6 separate regions of the Homo sapiens genome follow, and all the other regions are linked to region 5. Evidence: promoter capture Hi-C in 16 types of primary human blood cells and fetal thymus (Javierre and others, 2016). All regions are on one chromosome and are shown on one strand. Each heading gives the region's core, a stretch centred on a gene start or on the middle of the fragment in contact. The rest is flanking DNA. Distances are from core to core; before and after follow the strand shown.

What was found. The method cuts DNA at HindIII sites, captures the fragments that hold promoters and counts their contacts. A CHiCAGO score of 5 or more calls a contact.
Region 1: a fragment that was not itself captured here is called in contact with the fragment with the promoter of UGGT1 in region 5 in 1 of 17 cell types (fetal thymus); the score reaches 5.5 in fetal thymus.
Region 2: a contact is called between a fragment that was not itself captured here and the fragment with the promoter of UGGT1 in region 5, in 7 of 17 cell types (total CD8 T cells, naive B cells, total B cells and 4 more). The highest score is 6.8, in total CD8 T cells.
Region 3: the fragment with the promoter of MAP3K2 here is called in contact with the fragment with the promoter of UGGT1 in region 5 in 7 of 17 cell types (naive CD4 T cells, total B cells, naive CD8 T cells and 4 more); the score reaches 9.5 in naive CD4 T cells.
Region 4: a fragment that was not itself captured here is called in contact with the fragment with the promoter of UGGT1 in region 5 in 2 of 17 cell types (activated CD4 T cells and naive CD4 T cells); the score reaches 5.6 in activated CD4 T cells.
Region 6: a fragment that was not itself captured here is called in contact with the fragment with the promoter of UGGT1 in region 5 in 1 of 17 cell types (fetal thymus); the score reaches 5.3 in fetal thymus.

What each region holds. Positions count from the first base shown.
Region 1 is chr2:128,754,072-128,757,462 of GRCh38, reverse strand. No RefSeq gene overlaps it. Among named protein-coding and RNA genes, the nearest start is that of HS6ST1, 440 kb to the right of the region's middle. RefSeq lists an enhancer at 2,674-2,873. The HindIII fragment of the contact is 3,069 bases long and covers 123-3,191 here.
Region 2 is chr2:127,505,617-127,509,250 of GRCh38, reverse strand. IWS1 (interacts with SUPT6H, CTD assembly factor 1) reads left to right here. Exons shown (of 14, transcript NM_017969.3): 3 at 3,499-3,634. Among named protein-coding and RNA genes, the nearest start is that of IWS1, 19 kb to the left of the region's middle. The HindIII fragment of the contact is 2,455 bases long and covers 64-2,518 here.
Region 3 is chr2:127,386,725-127,390,584 of GRCh38, reverse strand. It overlaps MAP3K2 (mitogen-activated protein kinase kinase kinase 2), which reads left to right and starts at 2,610. Exons shown (of 17, transcript NM_001371910.2): 1 at 2,610-3,133. It overlaps MAP3K2-DT (MAP3K2 divergent transcript), which reads right to left and starts at 3,147. Exons shown (of 4, transcript NR_187129.1): 1 at 3,033-3,147; 2 at 1,587-1,704; 3 at 1,400-1,474. RefSeq lists a silencer at 2,321-3,190. The HindIII fragment of the contact is 12,520 bases long and covers 1-3,860 here.
Region 4 is chr2:127,409,456-127,412,925 of GRCh38, reverse strand. It overlaps LOC124908047 (translation initiation factor IF-2-like), which reads left to right and starts at 2,572. Exons shown (of 3, transcript XM_047446883.1): 1 at 2,572-2,630. The coding sequence starts at 2,572. RefSeq lists enhancers at 1,712-1,761, 1,902-2,101. The HindIII fragment of the contact is 627 bases long and covers 973-1,599 here.
Region 5 is chr2:128,089,102-128,092,538 of GRCh38, reverse strand. It overlaps UGGT1 (UDP-glucose glycoprotein glucosyltransferase 1), which reads right to left and starts at 1,339. Exons shown (of 41, transcript NM_020120.4): 1 at 1,124-1,339. The coding sequence starts at 1,181. RefSeq lists an enhancer at 1,268-1,577. The HindIII fragment of the contact is 755 bases long and covers 817-1,571 here.
Region 6 is chr2:128,725,005-128,728,928 of GRCh38, reverse strand. No RefSeq gene overlaps it. Among named protein-coding and RNA genes, the nearest start is that of HS6ST1, 410 kb to the right of the region's middle. The HindIII fragment of the contact is 660 bases long and covers 1,383-2,042 here.

The DNA of each region.
Region 1 (3,391 bases), core at 408-2,907, 660 kb before region 5:
AGACAGATTTGAGATGGATGCTTGTGCACATAATTAATTCAGTAGAATTAATTGCAATTGTGATATGCACTAACAGAGAAGAGCAAGGGACTATGTCTTTGCCTGGGAGGTGGGGGAAAGCTTTGCTGAGAAGGTGACTCAATTGCATGTCCTCCTCTTTTTTTCACTTCACAGCATATTATAAGCATTTTCCCAAAATTAAAAATTCCTTATGCACATCATTTTTATGTCTGCATCATCCACTACTTGTGGTTGTGTCTCGCCATCCCTGAACAATGGGCAGGCTGTTTGTTTCCATTCTTTTTCTATTCTTCATACTGCTTCAAGAAACTCCTTTATGTAATATCCATATTCCTCATTACAGCTTAAGGATAAATTCCTACCAAAGTAATTACTCAATCAAAAGGCAGCTGTTTTTTGTTTTTGTTTTTGTTTTAAGATGGAGTCTCACTCTGTTGCCCAGGCTGGAGTGCAGTGGCGCGATCTCGGCTCGCTGCAACTTCTGTCTCCCAGGTTGGAGCAATTCTCCCTGCCTCAGCCTCCTGAGTAGCTGGGATTACAGGCGCGTGCCACCATGCCCGGCTAATTTTTGTATTTTTTTAGTAGGGACGGGGTTTCATGATGTTGGCCAGGGTGGTCTTGAACTCCTGTCCTCAGGTGATCTGCTAGCCTCAGCCTTCCAAGTGCTGGGACTATAAGCATGAGCCACCGCACCTGGCCAAAAGATAGTTTTTTAAAGCTCTTCGTATGTATCACCAAGTGTTTTTCAGAAAGATTGGTCTGCACCTGCCCCATCCACACCACACCCACACACCATAAACTGGAAGTTTCTCCTCGTTTCTCTCTCCATCCAGTGCTAGCAGCTGCCCAGCCCTCCTGACAGCGTCATTCCATCTCTGTGAAGGGACTGGAAAAAGGGCCTCCTGCTAAGTGTCACACATGGGCCCCAGCTGTACACTAGAGAGTGGGAGAGAACACATCTGACAGCCTGGACACCTCCCAGCTGTCAGTTCAGCATAATTGGAGCTCAATGCCAGATCTCAATGTATCCAACCATCTTCTGCATGACTCTTTTGCCCCTTTTTTCATCTCTATTTTTGGTGTTGCTGTGGTTCATTTACTAGTCCTATAATAAATCATGCAGTGATTGCCACAAGTTTTAATATATAAGATTTGCTCAAATTCAAGTAATTTGATTTCAGAGATGACTCACTTTGTTTTCGAGCCTCAAAGAATGACATCAGGCAGGCTGGACTTTGGATCTCAGGTCTTCAGCTCCATAGTTTTAGAACCTCGGGCAGGTGCACCTCCTCACGTCTATGAGTTTCTGAAAATGTAGATAGCCCCTATTTAACCACGGGAGTGAGGCTTGTCTCAGAAAACACGTCCACCGCCACTGCCTGGCAGGTGGTCCCGTGGGACATGCTAGTTCTCCTGTCCCTGCTCTTCTCTCCCCACAGCCCACAGGATGGGGCATCCATGCGTCCTCCGTAGGCAAGGAGCCCCTGCAACTTTTATGCAGAGTTACAGTTGCTGTCACACCATCAGCCAACACTCTTCCAGGGAGCTCCTACCGGGGCACAGAGCTGTTGGATTATCCATGGTCATGCATAATCGACACAAGGCACAGCCCCGGAGATGGTTAAAATCTTCTGGCACTAGCAGGGTATATATGAAACCTAAACAGCCAGTTCCGAAAAAAAGTTTTCAGAGGGGTCCTCGACACTGGGAAAGCTGCCGGGTGAGGACAGACAAGAGGCCAATGTGAAGTCTCTTTTTCCATTTTCCTGCTTGATTTTTCTGCTTGAGACTTAACCATGATAAATCCTGGAATACTCCTTATTTATCTTTGTTGTTTTCCGTCTCTCCCCACTAGAGGGCGTGCTCCATGAGGGCAGGGGTCTTCGCTTTTCTCTCTGCTGCATCCTGAGCGCGGCTGGGACTTTTTGACTCTCGGTTAATATTGACCGAATGAATAAATGACTAAGTCAGCAGTGGAAGCAGGAAAAAAGGCATGCATGTGTATTTTTGGAGAGAAAAAGGGAGGTTTGCTGGAAGCAGAGGAGCTCTGTCTCCTTTTTTTTTTTTTTTTTGAGACGGAGTCTCTCTCTGTCGCCCAGGCTGGAGTGCAGTGGAGCAATCTCGGCTCACTGCAAGCTCCGCCTCCCGGGTTCCCGCCATTCTCCTGCCTCAGCCTCCTCAGTAGCTGGGATTACAGGCGCCCGCCACCACGCCCGGCTAATTTTTTTTGTATTTTTTAGTAGACACGGGGTTTCACCGTGTTAGCCAGGATGGTCTCGATCTCTTGACCTCGTGATCCGCCCGCCTCGGCCTCCGGAGCTCTGTCTCTTTGGGGTGCACAGCTCACTGCCCCCCAGAGTCTCCAGGGCCGAGGGTCAGGGATGTGGGTTGAATTGCAGGACCTCAGCTTTAATATGCTTTCCCGTTAATATGCTTTCCCGTCACAGGGAAACGGACTCCACCCAGACTGACTGTGGGATTGATTTCTAGGTCTTTTTATCTTTGGGGGTCAGGTGAAGAGATGGAAAAAGTTAATATATGTTGCATTTCAGAAACAAACTTAGGAAAAAGTTCTCTGGCATTTTCTAGCCATATGATGTGTATACATAGCCTAACATCTTTTTTTCTTCCATTTCTGTATCTGTACTATGAGATCAACTTATAGGAAATAATGTCTGTAAAACAATAACACAGTTCTTGACTCCTAGTAGACAATCAGTAATTGATGTCAGCTATCCTGGTGGTGGTGATGGTGCTATTATTTGCTTCCTGTTCCAGGTGGCTTCTGGTTCCCTTGGGACTTGCCCTGTGTGCAGGTACAGTTCAGACCAGAGGAGAAGCGGAACACACCGCAGCATCCTGTGGGGTCCTGCATAGTGGAGTAAATGAGCCTGGGCATTTGGGAGAGGGCTAGGGGAGTGTTGGTGTAAAGGACAGCAAGCAAGTGGTGACAGCCACCGGCTATTAATACTTTTAGTGAGTTTCTGCTTCACTGCCGGTCATTTTTTCTCACACTTAACAGCTTGCACTGATGACAGGAAGCACATGCTTGTAAGCAGACCATCTCCTGCAGCACTCACTGCACACAGGGCCTGTCTCCACCGGGACTGAGAGCCCAGACTCTCCTGCCCACATCCTGCAGCTGGCCTGGGAGGAGGCGCCTGCAAGCTTCCTCCTTTGGTTATCTCTCTCTTGCTGCGCCTCTGCTGCTTTTCCATGTGATCAAAGCAACCTTGACATCTTTCCCCCGTGCAGAATTTAATTTCCTAACTGAGATTTTATATATAGCACAAAATAAAGTTCTTATGTCTCTGATCTTGCAAGATAACCCCCAGCCCCACCTCACCTGCACAGGAGCAGGGCTCCAATT
Region 2 (3,634 bases), core at 42-2,541, 580 kb after region 5:
TTGCAATTTAATTGCCAAAACCACTCTAAAAACTTTGGATATTGTTTTGATAACTTTTAAGCTTAACTGTATAATTTCCAGCATACTCGTCCCAAATTCTGTGGTGGTGTTGTCTAAGTGTATTCTTTAGCTCGAGTCTATTAAACTAGTACTTCTTTACTGTAGTGATTTCTCCCCTTTTTTGCCCTGTCATGCCATACATAATGCTATGTTTTCGTGAAACTCATAAAAAATTCATGAGGATTCCTAAATTTTACAATCATTGTCTTATGCAGTGTCCTTGTAAGGGTTTGTTTTGGAATGCTACACCATGTGTCAGGAAATCTGGGGTAGAGTGTAGCGGGTGAGTTTTGGATGACTGCCCAGTGTCTCTCACTTCTTTGGGAGTGACTCCCAGTGCTGTGCCCCGATCCAGCTGTAACTGATTGAGTCACAGTTTCTAATATTGCCTTGGCCAGTTAAGTCATCTCTCTTGGGGATTTATAATTTAGGTTCTAGACAGGGTATAGCTGAGTCATGTTACTGATGGTACTCTAGTAAAATGATCCTTGAGTTCCCTTTTCTAAGCTCTCTGTGCTGCGTTGGTACTTAACCTTCCCAAGTGTTTAGTCATTCAACTGACTTTGATCCTGAGAAGATTGTTCTTTTTTTCTGGACTTAGCTAGAGATGATTTCTGTAGTTTCAACTAAAATAAATCAAGTCACACATAGAAATGGTGTTAGAGTTATGTGATGGATATATCATGGAGAGCATTCCAAAAGCCAATTATAATTTTCCTTTTTGCCTCCTGCTTTAATTGCCTCTGCTGGTACTGTATGCCTCTCCCCACCCTCCCGTCTTAACTCAGCCATCACAAACTGCATGCAAACATGCCTGTTGTCTGCACACCTTTTTTTTGCAGCTCAGTTTCATATAGATGCACTTCCAGTACACTTTTGAAATATCATATACATACTTTGTGAATAGTGCATGTCACACTATACTGTTACAGTATGCTTGGCTGGCTCCTCATCAGACAGCAGCTCTTAAGGTCAGGCCCTGTGACATACTCCGCCTGGATTCTTGGTGTCTTGCACGTAGTAGACATGAAATACATTCTTGTTGGATTAATTTTTCCTCACCTTATGTTATTCCCACTTAAGGCCTTTATTACTCATTTAACAAATACACGTTGAGTATCCCTTATCCAAAATGCTTCAAATCAGAAGTGTTTTGGATTTAGAATTTTTTCGAGTTTTGGAATATTTACTTATACAGAGTGAGCTATTTTGGCGATGGAACCCAAGTCTAAACACGAAATTCATGTGTCTTATATACATAGCTGGAAGGTAATTTTACACATTATTTTAAATAATTTTTCACATGAAACAAAGTTTGTGTTGGGTGCTTATGTGTGGAATTTTCCACTTGTGGTGTCATGTCAGTGCTCAAGAAGTTTCAGATTTTGGAGTTGTCTGAATTTTCAGATTAGGAATGCTCGAACTCTACCTAGTGTGTGTATGTTCTGGAGACCATTCTGCACTCTGAGGATACCTCAGGAAAACAAACCAAAATATGTCTGCCTTCCTAGAGCTTACAATCTAGATAGTTAAATTTTCCATCTGCATTCTTTTAAATTATGAAGTGTGGCTAAAGTAAACTTTAGGCAACATACAGACTATTGTACGGTAATTGTAAGATTCTATGATATCTCTCAAGTCCTAATACCGTTTTAATAGATAAGTGCCTGTTTCAGTGGGATAATAGAGCTTGTGACTGACAAGGAATCTAATACAGTACTGTGTTGAGTGCCCAGTGAGAACTCAAGAAAAATGTATTTAGGAATTTTGAAAAGTGTATGATTTTGGAAACTTACCTGAATGTGCTATATTTCAGTGACTGTGTATAGCAATGACTCTTTGCAATGCTGTGCTGTCATAATGGTGATAAAATATTTAAAAACTCTTCAAACATTGGCTTTGTAGGCTATTTTATAATTTTTCATATTCTTTTTGAATTTGTAGACACAGCATACTTGGGTTAGTAAAAGTTTGGGTTTTATGAGAACATTTTCAAGCCATTTATCTTGTCATTGACAAGAATAATCTTGTCACTTAACTGTTTCATAGCATGATGTTGGGCATATATATTATTAAAGGCTCTTTGGTCCTTGAAAATTGGTCTGTGGTAGGTTCACATAGCTTAAGTCATATATCTAACAAGAAATATTTGGCTCAGTAAATTTTTAAGAGGGTATACTCAAACACGGAAATACTTTCACTTTTTAAGCTAGAATATTATTGCCATGTTATTTAAAGTTGAGCTACCAGATGGGAGAAAAAATTCACCGGATCCTAAAATACTTGTTAGTATTTTGGCATGTTTAATTTTGTATATTTTTCTCTGCATTTTAAAGCCATAGCTATAATATGCACATATCAAGTTTGTACCCCAGGGCATGTTTTCAGAGTAATTATTTCAAGTAACATTATGTGTTGGTATAGTTAGATGAATCATGTTCTCCCTAAAACTTAAGCTTTCTTGTTTCTAGGGTTACTAGACACAGGACCGTGACTACTGTAAGCCTCAATTTTGTTATCATGAGAAGTACCATTATGAGGAGTAAATGAACTAACAGGAGAGAGCCTGTTGTGGTATTGGCTCTTAGTGGGTACTTAGGAAATGTTAACTTCTCCTTTCTTTGTTTGCTTAAATTATCTTGGGAGAAGGTGCCCATATGTTATTTGACCCTTTAAATAAAATTAAATTTTATAGTTCTTTTCCCTTAAATAATCTTAACCTTATAAAACCCAAGAATGTTCCTGTGTAAAAGAACTTGGTTACATGTTTGCTTGTATTTCTTTGAAAAATAGAGTTATTTATTTTTATTTATTTATTTTTATTTTTGACAGTCTCACTCTGTCACCCAGGCTGGAGTGCGATGGTGCAATCTCAGCTCACTGCAACCTCCGCCTCCCAGGTTCAAGTGATTCTCCTGCCTCAGCCTCCCTAGTAGCTGGGATTACAGGTGTCCACCACCACGCCCAGCTAATTTTTGTATTTTTAATAGAGACAGGGTTTCACCATGTTGGCCGGGCTGGTCTCGAACTCCTGACCTCAGGTGATCCACCACCTCGGCCTCCCAAAAGGTGTGAGCCACCTTGTCCAGCCTAGAGTTATATTTTTACAAAACAGAAGTATGTATGAGAAAATTCGCCTTTTAAAAAAGAAAAAATCTAGCTCTTCACGGTCAGTTTTCTGTAGTAATCTGAGGGCATGCTTTACAAATCTGTTTTGATGAAGGCTGGTTATATTTCCCCATTTGGGGATCCAAATAAAACCATTTCACTGATTGGCTTTCTGTGGGGGTGTTTCTATATGGGTATAGGACAAGAATTCTCCATTTAGGTGCACATAATCCTGTATTTTAAAAAAATCACAGAAAAAATTTAATGTTTTATTATTAATGGTTTTTTTTTTTTTGCACTTTCCTAATTTTTTCTCACTTTATTTTTCAGAATGAAACTAGTGATCGAGAAGATGGCCTCCCCAAAGGACATCATGTGACAGACTCTGAGAACGATGAGCCCTTAAATCTTAATGCTAGTGACTCTGAAAGTGAGGAGCTTCACAGGCAAAAGGACAGCGACTCTG
Region 3 (3,860 bases), core at 1,361-3,860, 700 kb after region 5:
TCCGAGACCAGCCTGACCAACATGGTGAAAACCTGTCTCTACTAAAAATACAAAACTTAGCTGGGCGTGGGGGTGGGTGCCTGTAATCCCAGCTACTCAGGAGGCTGAGGCAGGAGAATCACTTGAACCTGGGAGGCGGAGGTTGTAGTGAGCCGAGATTGCGCCATTGCACTCCATCCTGGGCGACAGAGTGAGACTCTGTCTCAAAAATAAAAAAATAAATAAAAATAAAAGCAGAGAGTTTTCTCTGGCTGGTAGCAAAAGAGGAAGTTAGAGAGAGATCTGATGTAGGAGGATGTTTGGCACGCAAGAAGGTCTCTGTCGCTGGCTTTCAAGATGGAAGGGGTCATGTGGCAAGGAATGCAGGTGACCTCTAGGAACTGAAGGCAGGCCCAGGAAATAGGGATGTCAATCCTACAACCACAGGAAACTGAATTGTGCCCCAAAGAAGAATGAGCTTGGAAGATCTTTGCAAGGGCCTCTAGATAAAAAGTCAGCCCAGCTGATACCTTGATTTCAGCCTTGCAATATACCCTGAGTAGAGAACTCAGCCTTGCCCCTGTGCAAACTTCTGATCTGTATAACTGGGAGCTAAAAAACAGACACTGTTTTAAGTCACTAAGTTTGTGGCAGTTTGTTATGCAGCAACAGAAAAGGAACATGCCACATTTCCTCTCTGAAGTCATCTCTCACTTCCCCAGACACACCTGTGACATCTTCCTCTTGCTGCTGTGGTGCCTGATACACATCCCTCCCATGATGCAGGTCACAGTGTGTTATCATTATCCATTTACCTGTCTGCCTTCCTCACAGGATTCTGAGTTCCTGGGCAGTGGGGACTATATAATTTTATCACTGCAATCCCAGGCACAGAGTAGGAAGGCAAAAAAATATTCATTGAATGATGGTTTCATCAATAAAAAAATCCCAATATCACTAATTTGTAATCATATATACTAAAATAACCAAAGATGTCAGAGATTTAATATCTAAGCAAGAGGAAAAGTCACCAATATAAAAGGAGAATGGCGAAAAAGAAAGAATAGCTACTATAACTATACCCACGGGATGTTTCTGAGGAACCCAGAGGTGAATGAAGTCCCCGGGGTGGTAAGTGAGGGAAGGGAGTGGAGAAATGAGCAGCACTATGAGGGGAAAAAATTTATCTCTAGATTACTTAGTAAACAAACACGTTTTTATTGAATGCCTGCTATGTGGTGACCCAGTAACTGTGGAGAACAATATAGATATTTAAGATTTAAATACTATCCTCCGGCGTTCTGAGACCCTCCTTTCTGTGGCATACAGGTCTTAGAATGTTAGATTCAAGAAGGTCTTAGATTTATGCATAAGTCCCCCATTTTTTAAACAAATAGAAGCAAACTGATTTTCCACTGACCTCTGTGTTTCTGAGGTGCACATCCTTGTTCCTGTGACTTTGACACCTCTGTTAATGGGTCTGTAATAAAAATTCCTGGAAGAAACCCAGAGATATTTTGACATTACACAACAGTTTCTCCCTCAGTCTCTGCCCCACAAGTGCCAGCTCCCTTGACCCTCAGAGCCCAAGTTGGGTAGCTCCTTACCTCTGGTTCGGGTGAGTCCCATTCCCATCTCTCTCATTTCAACTGCTCCAGTGGAAATGTGGTCTGGAATATGCATGAAAGGGGTGGATCCAGAATGTACGAAGAAACCAAGAAGAAGCTGAACAGGGAAGAATGGTACAGGAAGTTGTAAGGGGTATTTAAGGAAAGGAGAAGAGATGGGGCGGAAAGGTGCTTTCTGGATCAAAGTAGGGTGAAAACGTCGGGATGCAGGTTAGTCACACCACGGAGGGCCTCACCACTAGTCTGATTAATTTGCATTTTATCCTGTGGGAGATGAGGAGCGAAAGAAAGGGTTTTAGACTCTAGCTTTGGGGGTGGGGTGTCAACTCATGTCTCTGGGCTTAAGTTTCCACATCTGTTAAGCTGGAGAAGTAATACTTGCTGGGCTAACCAATGTACACAACCAGTCATAACCAAGTATCGATGGTGATAAGAACTAAACAGAAAACACAAATAACACTTAGCCAGTCTCCAAGGGGGTGGTTTAAGGTTAGGTGGCAAGCCTGAAGTAATTTCTAAAGTCCCTCAGGAAAAAAATTCTGAAACTTGAGCCACAAATTAAGAGGCAGACGGCTTTTCTCCTTGCAAATGACCTGCCACACAGTCCGTCACTGCCTCTGCTAGCTCTGCTACCCTTGGGCCCTGTCCACAGCCCACGTGGGAGACCTTTTCACGGGATCTACTCGGATGTCTGGGATCTGGCCACTACCGCAGGCTCGAGACAACCCAGGTGCGTATGCGCCGCGCACACGGAACAGCACAGGCTGCCCCGGGGCAGGGGCGGGGGCGGGGCCGAGGCCGGGGCGGAGCCAGGACTGGGAATCCCCGCGCCGTCCGGCCGGTGGGGGCGGTGGCCTGTGTGTGGGCGTGGCGGGCCTCTGCGCAGGCGCCGACCCACTCCCCTGGGCCGGGCGCGCGCCCGCGGCGGGTTCCGCTACCGCCGGGCGGAGGGGTGCGCGCGCACGAGCGAGCGGCCGTGACGTGCGCCGCGCTACGCCCGACGTCACGGGTCCGTGTGTAGTGGCTGCCGGGCTGCCTGCCCTCAGCGGCGGCGCCTGACGAGGGTGCCGCGGCCGCTGGGCGCAGCGTTCGGGGGTTGCACGGCCCGCGGCGGCGACGAAAACAACGACCAGGACGCTCGGCGCCCCTGTCCGCAGAGTCGCCACTCCCGCCTCTTCTCCGGTCTCTAGCGACGCGGGCCCGCGGCTTCCTCCTTTCCTGCCCAGTTCCCGCGGGCCTCGGGGTTGCAGCGGCTAGAAGTGCCGAGGAGCGCCAGGAGGACCCGGCCGGCTGCGAGGATTCACGCGCCCGCCACCCCGCCCGGCCCGGGCTTCATGTGAAAGAGGGACGGGCCTGGCCCCAAGGCCCGCGCCCGACTCCTCGCGCGCCCCTCCGGTCCCCGGGGGCCCTGCGGCAGCCCCCGACCTGGGGCCGCGGTGACAGGCCGCGCTGGGGCGGAGGGGCGGGCTCGGCGGGGGCGGCCCCTCCTTGGGCCTGCGGCTCTCTACGTCCCTGCGGAGCAGCCGGTACGTGCGTGTGTGCGTGCGCGCGCGCTTGTGTGTGTGTGTGTGTGTGTGTGCGCGCGTGTGTGTCGGGGGCCGCGGGCTGGGCGCCGGGAGGGGGGCTGGCGGCGGCCTAAGCGCCGCTCCAGGGGCGGAGATTTCGCTGGGTGATTGCCTAGCTGCGGGAGGGCGGACCTTGGGCCCCCTGCATCCAGTCCTAAAGCCCAGGTCAGCGCGAAGTAGGCTGCTGGGCTGTGTTAGCTGTCAGACACGTACCCTGCAGAGATTTTAGAAGAAAGGTTGCATCTGGTCTTGGGATGAAGCAGAAATGGTACATGCAGTAAGCGAAAAAGTGCTTGTCTTTGCACTGTCACAGTGTGGTAATCTTTTGATGTAAGGTTGTTTCCCCCTTTTCTCTTTACGGAATATTTAGGTAGCACTTAGGGTGCTCTTAGTCTGCGCCCGGCAGTTGTCATGCATTATCTCTCTTCATCTTCCCAGCTCAATGAGGTGGGTAAATTGCCCCATTTTGCAGGTGAAAACTTGAGGCTCAGAGAGATTAAGGCATTTGTCCAAGGTCATGAAGGTAGTAATCCAGGAAGGCTTGGTTCGAATATGCAGATGTCTTTTTGTAAGACTGTATTTCTCGTCTTGCAAAAAATAAATACGTTTAGAAAATGAGACTAACTGGGCAGTTTCTTTAATGGGATAAATTCTAAACACATAGACAGATACAGTTTAGTTTTCCCTA
Region 4 (3,470 bases), core at 37-2,536, 680 kb after region 5:
AAAGACATCTTAATGTTGAGTCTTCTCATCTATTAGCATGGTATTTCTCTACATTTATTCAGCTCTTTGTTAATTTCTCTCTCCAATGTTTAATTGTTTTCAGGTATAGGTCTTGAACATATTTTGTTAAATTTATCCCTACTTATTTCATGTTTTAAAAATGTTATTGTAAGTGGCATTTTAAAAATTTGAACTTACAATTGTTTGTTGCTAGTGTTTATAAATACAATTGACTTTTTAAATTGAGACATTATTTCTTGATTCTATAAACATGATAAGATGATCAACTATCCCATTTGTCTGGGATTGTACCATTTTTAACACTAAAAGTCCTAAAGAAGAAGCCAAAAAGTTAAAGGGAAGTAAACTCTCCCTTGGGAAGAGAAAAGTCGAGGTTTTCAGTGATTGATACAGGAGATTAGGGGAAAGGTATAAAACCCACATGGCAACCCCAGAAACAGAGGCCGAAGGCAACACTGGTTTTAGTGCCAAATGGGCACATCACCTTCCTTAGTGTCTGTTGCTGAGGACAACCACCATGATTTGTAGTACACCATAGTGGATCATCCATTATTATGTCACTCCTTGTGATGTAACTTAAGCGCGCTATAATCTTGAACGTGACCATCCACTTTGCCTGCGGATTAATTGTTGTGCTTTGTATTGAGACACTGCTAGTTTAATTTTAGCATGGTGACTACTGAGGCCATGTTTTCTTAAGCATTCAGGTGATGAAAATGAGGAAATGGTGTTGCAATATCAATGCCCGCGTGACCCAAATGGCCATGTTATTTTAACGACAGGAGGAGTGACACAGACAACTGGATGAGGGAGGTAAAGAATCAAAACAAGGGATACTGCGCAATAAGCAGAGAGAATTCGGGGTTGGGCATGGTGGAAGAAGGGACTGTAGAGACTGCCTCACAAGTCCTCAGTGAGATAGGCAAGTATGTCCACATTAACCAAAAAGCTTTTTGTCTCCACAAAAGACACCAATTGAAAATAGTGGCTGCTGAATTAGCTAGGGCAAACTACAAAAATGAATTTGTGTGATTGTGCTGCTCCTTTGATTGTTTTTTGAAACTGAGTAGGGGCACATTTCCTCATTTACAGGCTGTAACTGAAATATCACGTGGGTGAACAAAGGGAGAAATGTCGATGGCAGCTGTGTTGACCCTTTACAACATGCAGCGGATTCTGCCAGATCCCACCAACAATCATGCTTTCTACAGTAACCAAGTGCTGCATCCAATCATGGCAATGAAAAACAGTTCTCCTAACTTGTAAATACTTTGATTTGAAAAAATGGAGTTTCAAATCATCCTTTTTATTTCTATGAAGATTTTAATCCACCTGCAGAAAAAAAAAAAGAATGTTGATGCTATCTTGTCCAAATACAAACATGACTTTGCCCATCTGTCTGCCTATTTGGCAGACCGTGCAAATGTAAATTTTTGCAAATTCCATGCAGTCTATGAACGCTTTACCAAAGAAAAGTTAAAAATATTAGCCACGAAGTGTCCTGCACATTTTGTACACATCAGTAAAAAGGGGTGGAGTTTCCTTCCCTGTGATATTGATGCTTTCAAAATGAAAGCTTTTATTTACTTTTCAGTTTCCTCAAAGCATGAAAAAGCACTTAATGAGATTTTTCACATTCCAGAAATGGAAGGAGATGGCCTCCTTTGGACATGTGCCTACACGAGGGCTGTCACTGTTGCCAGGGTAAAAAGGCAGCCTGCCATACAACCATATTTTCAAAGCATGGGACAAGAAGAATGTCCTTGTCTAATTTGGAAATATATTAAGAATGAAAATAGAGAAAAAGATTATGGTTAAACAGTCAAACTGAAATTTATAAGTTCTTCCTCCAAAACTGCCTGATGATCTTTGAGGAGCCCATAAGGGCTCTGGAAAAGCATGAACTGACTGTCCCTGAGTTGTCGATGTTATAGGTAGGTACTGACAAAGCTCATATAATGAAAAATGACTCATTTTTTGGAAACGAAACCAAAATGTCACCAGAAAAGGACAGCCAATTTAAACAAGACTTTCTCACTTCTTTACTAAAACTGTAACTTATTTGGAATTCAACTTCAACTTCAACTTCACAAGTTCAAAGTATCTTTGTGCTTTAAAACTATTTTTCCTGAGAGAAACACAGACAGAGAAGGAGAGAGACAGAGAGAGGTTTAACTTACAGTGACATCCAGTGTGCTCAGAAATGTTCAAAAAGGGCCGGGTGCCATTGCTCACGCCTATAATTCCAGCACTTTGGGAGGCCGAGGTGGGTGGATCAGCTGAGGTCAGGAGTTCGAGACCAACCTGGCCAACATGGCGAACCCTGTCTCTACTAAAAATACAAAAATTAGCCAGGCGTGGTGGCACGCGCCTGTACTCCCAGCTACTTGGGAGGCTGAGGCCGGAGGATCACTTGAACCTGGGTAGTTGAGGTTGCAGTGAGCCGAGATCACGCCACTGTACTCCAGCCAGGGCGACAGAGTAAGACTCCAACTCAAAAAAAAAAAAAAAGTTCAAAAAGGATGGATATCTTAGCCATGGATATCCTACATGATAGATGCAAAAGATGACAAACTGCTGGTTTACCAAAACCAGCCTGCAGATGCAAAGTGAATGGACATCTTTGGACAGCTGGAAACGAATCCCTACAAATCTAAAACCCTGCCGTTGCTTGTAGGTACAATCCTAAGTATTCCATTCTCAAACGCTTTTGTTGAGATAGCAGCTTGAGGCCATCACATTGGACTGACCTCAGGAGTCAGTGTACTGAGGGCTCTCTAAGAGCAGAGCTGCAAGTCAAAGGATTTTCCATTTAACTATATTCAGTTTCATCACTACATCAAGGAAGAACTTCCTACTAAAGGCTGCAGGCAAGGAAATAAAAAGAGTCAAAATATCCTACTATATCATAGGACCAAAATGTCTTTTTTTTTGTAGACGGAGTCTCACTCTTGCCCAGGCTGGAGTGCGGTGGCGTGATCTTGGCTCACTGCAACCTCTACCTCCCAGGTTCAAGCAATCCTCTTGCCTCAGCCTGCTGAGTACCTGGGACTACAGGTGGGTGCCACCACGGGCGACTAATTTTTGTTTTTTTAGTAGAGACAGGGTTTCACCATGTTGGCCAGGCTGGTCTCAAACTCCTGACCTCAAGTGATCGGCCCGCTTCGGCCTCCCAAAGTGCTAGGATTACAGGCATGAGCCACCACGCCCAGCCCGTCATTGTTATTTTTGATTAAATATTAGTAATATCTGTTTAAATACTGCTGTTATATTACATTCACCATTTTAAAAGTCTTACATTTATGTATTTTGATACAAAATTTAAGTATCTAATAATGACTTAAAATAAATTGCTAAATCACAGGACAGGAAGAAACATTATAAAACTATTTTTATATTTTTCTCACACATATTATTTGTTATTAGTCCTATTATTACTAATTGCCACT
Region 5 (3,437 bases), core at 90-2,589:
ATGCTCACAGACAGCTGCAGGAAAGTTCTAAGCAAATTTTCTTCTTACTTTCATATATTCCCCTGAAGTTCAATGTGCATTATAAATGTGCTATGCTACTGTACAAAGTATTATGGTCACTTCCTTTAATAAGTTTCATGTGGCCAGGAGTTCAAGATCAGACTGGTAGGTAACAAGACCTCATCTCTACAAAATAAATAAATAAATAAATAAATAAGAATTTTTTTAAAATAAGCTTCAGCTAAGTTTATCAAAAGCAAGTCAAGTGTTGCTAAATTCGACTGGCTTAAAAAAAAAAAAAGCAAAGTGAAAAGGCTACAATTATTCCAAGTTTTGTGGTGCTGTTAAATAGCTATTTAAAATGTCTTCAAACGCCTGCAAGTGTAAGATTCTTGAAGGAAAGAGGGCACTTTACACTAAAATTGGCTGGCAAGTACATCAATGAATGTTTCCAAAACAGTTAGTGTAGCACAATAAGGCAAAAGACCCCAGGACTTCAAACGAACAAAATTGCTCCTTCTCAAATCTGGCAAGAAATGCAAAACAACTGCAGATTCTGGCCAAGGAACAAAAACAGTTCACATCTATAAGTTATTGGCGACGGACGCAGATCTCATTCTGGCAGGTCCCACGCTAAAAGTGAAACCATATCATCCAATTTCCAGCCAACAGATCACAGTGTTAAAAGAAAACAGTAACCAATACGCATCAACCCGAATTCATTTTAGGAAAAATTGAAATCTATTTTAAAAAGCACGTCGTTCTGCAATCAGGGTCCTGCAAAGTGCTGCTTCTCAACTCACTGAGGATCAAGCTTGGTCTAAATCCATGGTAGGATACCTCCCCCATTTCCTTCTGCACTTGGCACAAGGATCTAAAGCTCTTCAAAGAAGGTTCAAGACCGCTGAACAGAGCCCGCCGCCACCCCCGCGGAAGCGATACCTTGCCAAGAAGACCACTGAGGGCAACTCGGGGCGCTCGCGAATAGGGGAAGGGATAGGACACCAGAGGGTAAACTGAGTCACGGTAGAGGCGGAAGCTCAATGTGACAGGGGCACAGGGTCGCCTTGTGCCCCAAACCCTCTCTTTGTCCACGAGGCCTCCTCACGCCACCCCTGGGTACCTGTCACCGGCAGCGCACCCGCGGCACACGCACCGCTCGCGTCTCCCTTGCAGCCCATGCCCGGGCCGTGGTCAGTCCGCCACAGTGCCAGAGACAACGCCAGGGCAGGGCGGGGCGAGGCGGCAGCGGCAGTGCAGGCTGCGCCAGTGAGAGGCCGACACGCGCCTTTCCCGCGGCTCGACTCAACACCCAGCCTCGCAAAGCAATTGCCCAGCTGCCGGCCGCCCTTTTACTTCCGCTTCCTGCAGGCGAACGCTGGAGGACTTCCGGATACCGAGTCGAGACCTAGCAGCCCAGAGCGTCGCGCGGTCGCCCTCTCATCTCCGAGGGTTGGGGAGGGGGGAGTCCTGCCTCTCTCCTCACTTCCGCCTTTCAGGGTGGCGGGTAGGCTGCCGGTCTTCAAGGTCTTGGGAAGGTTCGTTGGGCCAACAGCTGAGACCCGAAAGCTTCAACAGTCAGTCGGTGAAATCCAGTTTGGACTCTGGGACTTACTCCCTTAAACCTTTGTTAAAAGCTTACTCCCTTTAGCCTTTCGGTGGCACAGTAAGGACAATTGTCTTAATGTTTCTGAGCATCTTAGACTTTATACTAAACCCTAAAATTTTGATAGCTACCTTCCAGGAGGCATGATGAAAGGAAGACTTTTTAAATTTTATGAGCCGCTTGAGCTTTCTTATTCGGACAGCGGCAGCTTAGTCTACAGGGACTACTTTGTCCTTTTAGTATTTTTTTTTTAACTAATATAAACCAGTTTAAAATTGTTTTGGAATAGGTAGCATTTAACCCACCCAAAAATGAATACCTCTTTGGAGGGTATATTTTTAAGTATATTAAGTCAAAGTGAATGAAAAGCCAAAAATATTTTTTTGGAGTTGGAGTCTCGCTCTGTCTCCCAGGCTGGAATGCAGTGGCGCGATCTCGGCTCACTGCAACCTCCGCGCCCCCGCCCGCGCCCCCCACCCCCCAACCCCCCGACCCGCATTCAAGCGATTCTCCCACCTCAGCCTCCCCAGTAGCTGGGATTACAGGCGTGCGCCACCGCGCCTGGCTAATTTTTGTATTTTTAGTAGAGACAGGGTTTCACCCTGTTGGCCAGGCTGGTCTCGAACTGCTGACCTCAGATGATCCACCCGCCTCGGCCTCCCAAGTGCTGGGATTACAGGCGTGACCCACTGCGCCCGGCCCAAAATAATTTTAATAAATAAACATGAGCCAACATGATGAAGGGGAGGAAGGAGAGGAGGATGAAGGAGATGACTAATGGAACACTGATGGAGGCCGGGCGCGGTGGCTCACGCTGAGGATGGAGGCTGAGGCAGGAGAATGGCGTGAACCCGGGAGGCGGAGGTTGCTTGCAGTGAGCAGAGATCGCATCACTGCACTCCAGCCTGGGCGAGAGAGGGAGACTCCATCTCAAAAAAAAAAAAAACAGCAACAACAACAGCAAAAAAACACTGATGGATTCCAACCTTCCTTTTTTTACATTTTCTCCAGTCCCTGGGAGCAAGTTGCAGTTTTTTTGTTTTTTTGTTTTTTGTTTTTTCTCTCTTGTGCTCAGTCGCCCTGTTCTTGAGGTTTCTTTTCTCTACACTATAGTTCTCAACTTATTTTGGGGGAAATAACTTCAGCAGAATACAATGGGAAAAGAGTCTCTACCCCTTTCTGTTCGAAATTCATTTTTATCCCTTCCTGTCTGAGCAAAAACTGTATAGAATCAACATCACCCCAGCTCTGTGGGAAAAAAGAAAAACCTGCTCCCTTCGCCCTGCTGGAAGCTGGAGGGCTCTAGGCCCATGTGTAGCAGAGCATTCAATTCTAGCTTTCTTCCTGCTTTCTCTGTATATTGGGCTCGGAGAGTACACTGGGTCTCTATGTGAATATGGACAGTTAGCATTTACCAACATCTTTCTGTCTACTTTCTCTTGTTTAAAAAAAGAAAAAAACTTTAAAAAATGGGATTCTAGAAGTCAGCAAAGGGTGGGTCTGAGATGTTTGGGTGGGTTAAGCGGACATTTTGACAACATGGCTTCTCCTTTGGCATGTTTAATTGCGATGTTTGACACACATCCTTGCAGTTTAAGATGACGCTTTTAAAATAAATTCTCTCCTAATGATGACTTGAGCCCTGCCACTCAGTGGGAGAATCAGCAGAACCTCTAGGATCTTATTTGGAATTGACATTCTCTATTGTAATTTTGTTCCTGTTTATTTTTAAATTTTGTTTCACTGGAAAGGAAAGATCATGCTCAGTTTTAAATGTTAAAAGTGTACAAGTTGCTTTGTTACAATAAAACTAAATGTGTACACACACCTA
Region 6 (3,924 bases), core at 463-2,962, 640 kb before region 5:
CATGATGATGCTTCTAGATAAGTTTATTTTTAATTTTTCTATTTAATATTTGATGTACTCCTTTAATATCAAGACTTGTGTCTAACTTCTTCAAATACTGTCACATTCTCAATCTCACTAATTATTGCTTCAAGAATTTCTATTAGATATGTATTTGAGATTCTGATTTTAGCCTCTGCACCTCTCAAATTATCTTTCTCTTATTTGTTCCATAAAGAATTTTGATAGATTAACTCTTTCTTCCTATTCACTAATTTTATCTTCAGTTGTCAGTTGTATTTGGACTATTGTATTATTTATCTATTAAAGACATTGTTTTCCTTTAATTTCAATGACTATTTAGTTTCTTGAATTATTTGGTCCTTTTGCATAGTGGCTTTCTCTAGTACCTGTAGATTCTCTCCTTTTTTTTTTTTTTTTGTCTCATTTATCATTTAAATACACTTACTCTATGGCTGCTAGTTCCACAGGAGTAAATATTCCCATTTCTTCCATCTGCTGATTCTCTTTCATAGTGTTAGGTTTCCCCATTTACTCTGAGATTTTGTCTGTGAGCTCATCTTCAACAAGACTTACCTTCTGTAACAATCCAGGATGTGCCGTGAGCTGTGGGTATGTCCTTGTAGGGGACTTAACATTGCATCTGCCAGAGCCCTAAAATGTGTGAAAGTTGTCAGAATCAAAGTGGAGTCACTCTTTCAAACCATAGCAAAATAGAGCCAGGGAAGGCCATGAAGGGAGGACTCTCACTCATAATTTATCTGATGATAGGATCCACCTCAAAAATTGTTTCCAAACCACAGCTTACTACATGAGTCACACAAGAAAAGCTAGCAGCACAAGAACAGCTAGCCACTTCTAGAGGCACGCTGGCCTGTTTTGCAACTCTCACAAGGTCAGTCCAAAAATACAAAGGCCTAACCGTAACTCCAAGATGCTGAGTCCCACCTAGCAGCTACTGATACTTGACAATGAACTTTCAAAACAACTTGCATCACCTCTTCTCTCCCCAGTAAAACCTTAATTTTCCTTTGTTCTCCAGACATGCCAGAGACCATCCCAGTCTATGCATATGTCTGAGATCTCAATCCTATTTCTTTGTTCATTCCCAAATAAATCCCTTTTGCTTGGAGTTCTGTCTCCATATATTCTTATTTCAAATTGGACAAGTGCCATGAGGCCAAATTCTACAATAATTATCATTTTTTGTTTGTTTATTTTGACACTATGGCATAGGCAGTGTGACTTGGAGCCCCACATCTTTTTGTGACAGAGGCTGGGGTTTCAGTTTTACATGGGAAACTCCCCCTGCCACAGTCTGCAGGGGCAAGCTCCTTCCTGTGCCCCAGCCCTGGCCTACACAGTCCTTCTCCACCCAAGCTTTCACATGGAGCCCTCGATGTCCATCTTTACACAGAACAAAATCCCTGCCATAAGGAGTGGATCCAGCCCCTGAGGGCTCTGCAGCTTCAACGCTGGCTCTCTGTCATGGCTTTGCATTCCTTCTTTGTTGATTGCTTCTAGTTATTTCTCTTTCTTACATTGAAACTGGGCTTTTTTCTTAATTGCTTCATTGCATCTATCATGGATAAATGAGCTCAGACTTCTAGTCAAGGTAGTAAGCTGACATGTCCACTAAAACGTCTAACAGACATCTCAGTTTCTCCCCCAGCCACAACCTGGTTCTGTCAGTCTTTCTTGTTATAGCAAATAACACCAATGACCAGCCAGTTGCTTGGAGCAACAGGCAATGATAAGTATTCAGCTCTATTTGGTTTAATACCTTGACCAGAAGTCTGAGCTCCACACATGTCAGTGGTCACAGACTGGTCATTCAGAAAAAGAAACAAGCTGAATCTGGCACCCCTTAACCTCAAGAAACTCCTGTCGGTTCCTACTACGTTATCACAGCCATTTATTTAATTTCACTAGAAACCACCCAACTCTCGGATCTCTAATTTCTAAAATATATTTTACCTTCTTAAAGATTTGTGCAATATGAATCCTCTTGACATTTTCTGGACTCTCCATCACTCCAAGCTTTATCATAGGTTAGCAATGGGCTTCATGATCCTTTTGATGTTTATATGCTGGGCCACGATCTGCCCTGTGCTCAGCCCTGCTAATGCTTTCTTTTGCCTTCTCCCTTAGGCTGGGTCTCCTGCCTCCTAACCATGTTGCATCCACCCTTTCCATTTTGTAGGTTTAGTTTTTTTAGAAAAATCATGGCAGTAAAACAGAAAGTGAGACATTGTACTTTCTCTCTGTCACCTTTTAACATTACACCATATGCCATCAACAGTTGGACTCTGTCAACAAAACTTACAAAATCCTTCAAAAAATATTTTTAACAGTTGTTTTTTCATTTATGAGCTCCTTCTGATCTTTTGCCTTCCTTAGCATCTTATTCCAGACTTGTGCCGTGCTGTGGCATTTATCTTGGATTATATCAGTTCCCTTTCAGCCCACATGAATCAGTCTCAGAATAGCCTCCTCCCACCCAGGCTCCTTCTGAGTCTCTCTTGGCTCCTCTTCACCACCCAGACCTTGAGCTGAGAGTGCCCAGGGCTCAAACCTCAGTACCCAGGGCTCAAACCTCAGACCTGTTTTCTTCTCTCTCTCTCTACAGTGTTTGCATTCAATCTTACAGCCTGTAATATCGCAAAGACTTGGGTAACTTCTGGCTCCACAGCCTATTTATCTGCTCAGATTCCCACTCTTTAACACCGGCCTCACTAATCCACCTGCAGACTTGACCTCTTTATTTGGATTTCTAACAAACACCTCAATCCCCCTGCCTCCAGCACCTGGCCTCTCTGCTTTCCCCAATTTAATAAATGATGTCAACATTCAACTAGTAACTGAAGGCAAAGATTCTAGAGTCAATCTTGTAGCCACGTTTTCTTATTCCACATTCAACTCAACAGCTAATCCTGTCACCTCCACCTTCAAAATATATCTATATCAAAATAGATGTAATCTATCCAATATTCTTTCCAGCTTTTCTTTTCAACTTTGCAAATGTGATCACATTCTCACCAGCCTCCCTGCTTCCACTTTTGCCCTGCAACCTGTTCTCTACCCAAAAATGCTTCCTCTCATGGTCTACGCGAGCTTGGACAGGCCCTCCCAGCCCTCTCTGCCCACCTCCCCATCTCGTCTCACAGAACTCTTCCAGTCCTAGGGCCTGCTTTCTGTTCCTCAGACATATCATTGTCCCAGTCTCAGGACATTTGCACATGCCACACTCTCCACTGGAGTATTCTGTCCAGTACGGCTACAGTAAATCTTCCTCATTTCATCTATATCTCAGCTCAAAAATCACCTTGGAGACAGCTAAAATCACAAGTCCTGTCTATCCCCATAGCCTGCTTTTTCTTCATAGCCCTTGTCACCGCCTCATAAATCATTTGCTTACTGGTTTCTGTCCCCAACTATCAAATGAGCTGCTTGGGGCAGGGACCTTGCCATTTCCAGGGGCTCGCTATATTTCCAGAGCTTGGAGAAGAGCCTGTGTGTAGGAGGCCTTCCTTAAACATGTGCTGACCTGACTTTTTCTATTCGGCAGATGACTTCAATATCCTACCTGCATAGGAGGGGGAAACTCTGGCTGTCATGCGGGGCCTGAGCCTCTGAGAGCTGAATGCATACAGGCATGGGAGGTGATGGGAAATAAAGGTAAAAACACAACTGAGAAGCCAGACGGTGGGTGTGGTGTTTGTGGTGTGGATACCCGAGGCAATGCTGTTCACCCGGGACCTGGTTAGGAAAGGCCTGCACTTACAAATCCCTGAGGCCATTAGGCGTGGCTGCCACAAGGAGAAGCTCCCTGGTCAGCGGTCTCCATTTGAAGGCAGGCTGGGTTTGATCCCTGGATAGGACTTCTTCCAAAGGTCAGTTGGAAACTGACTAGAAAACCAGTCT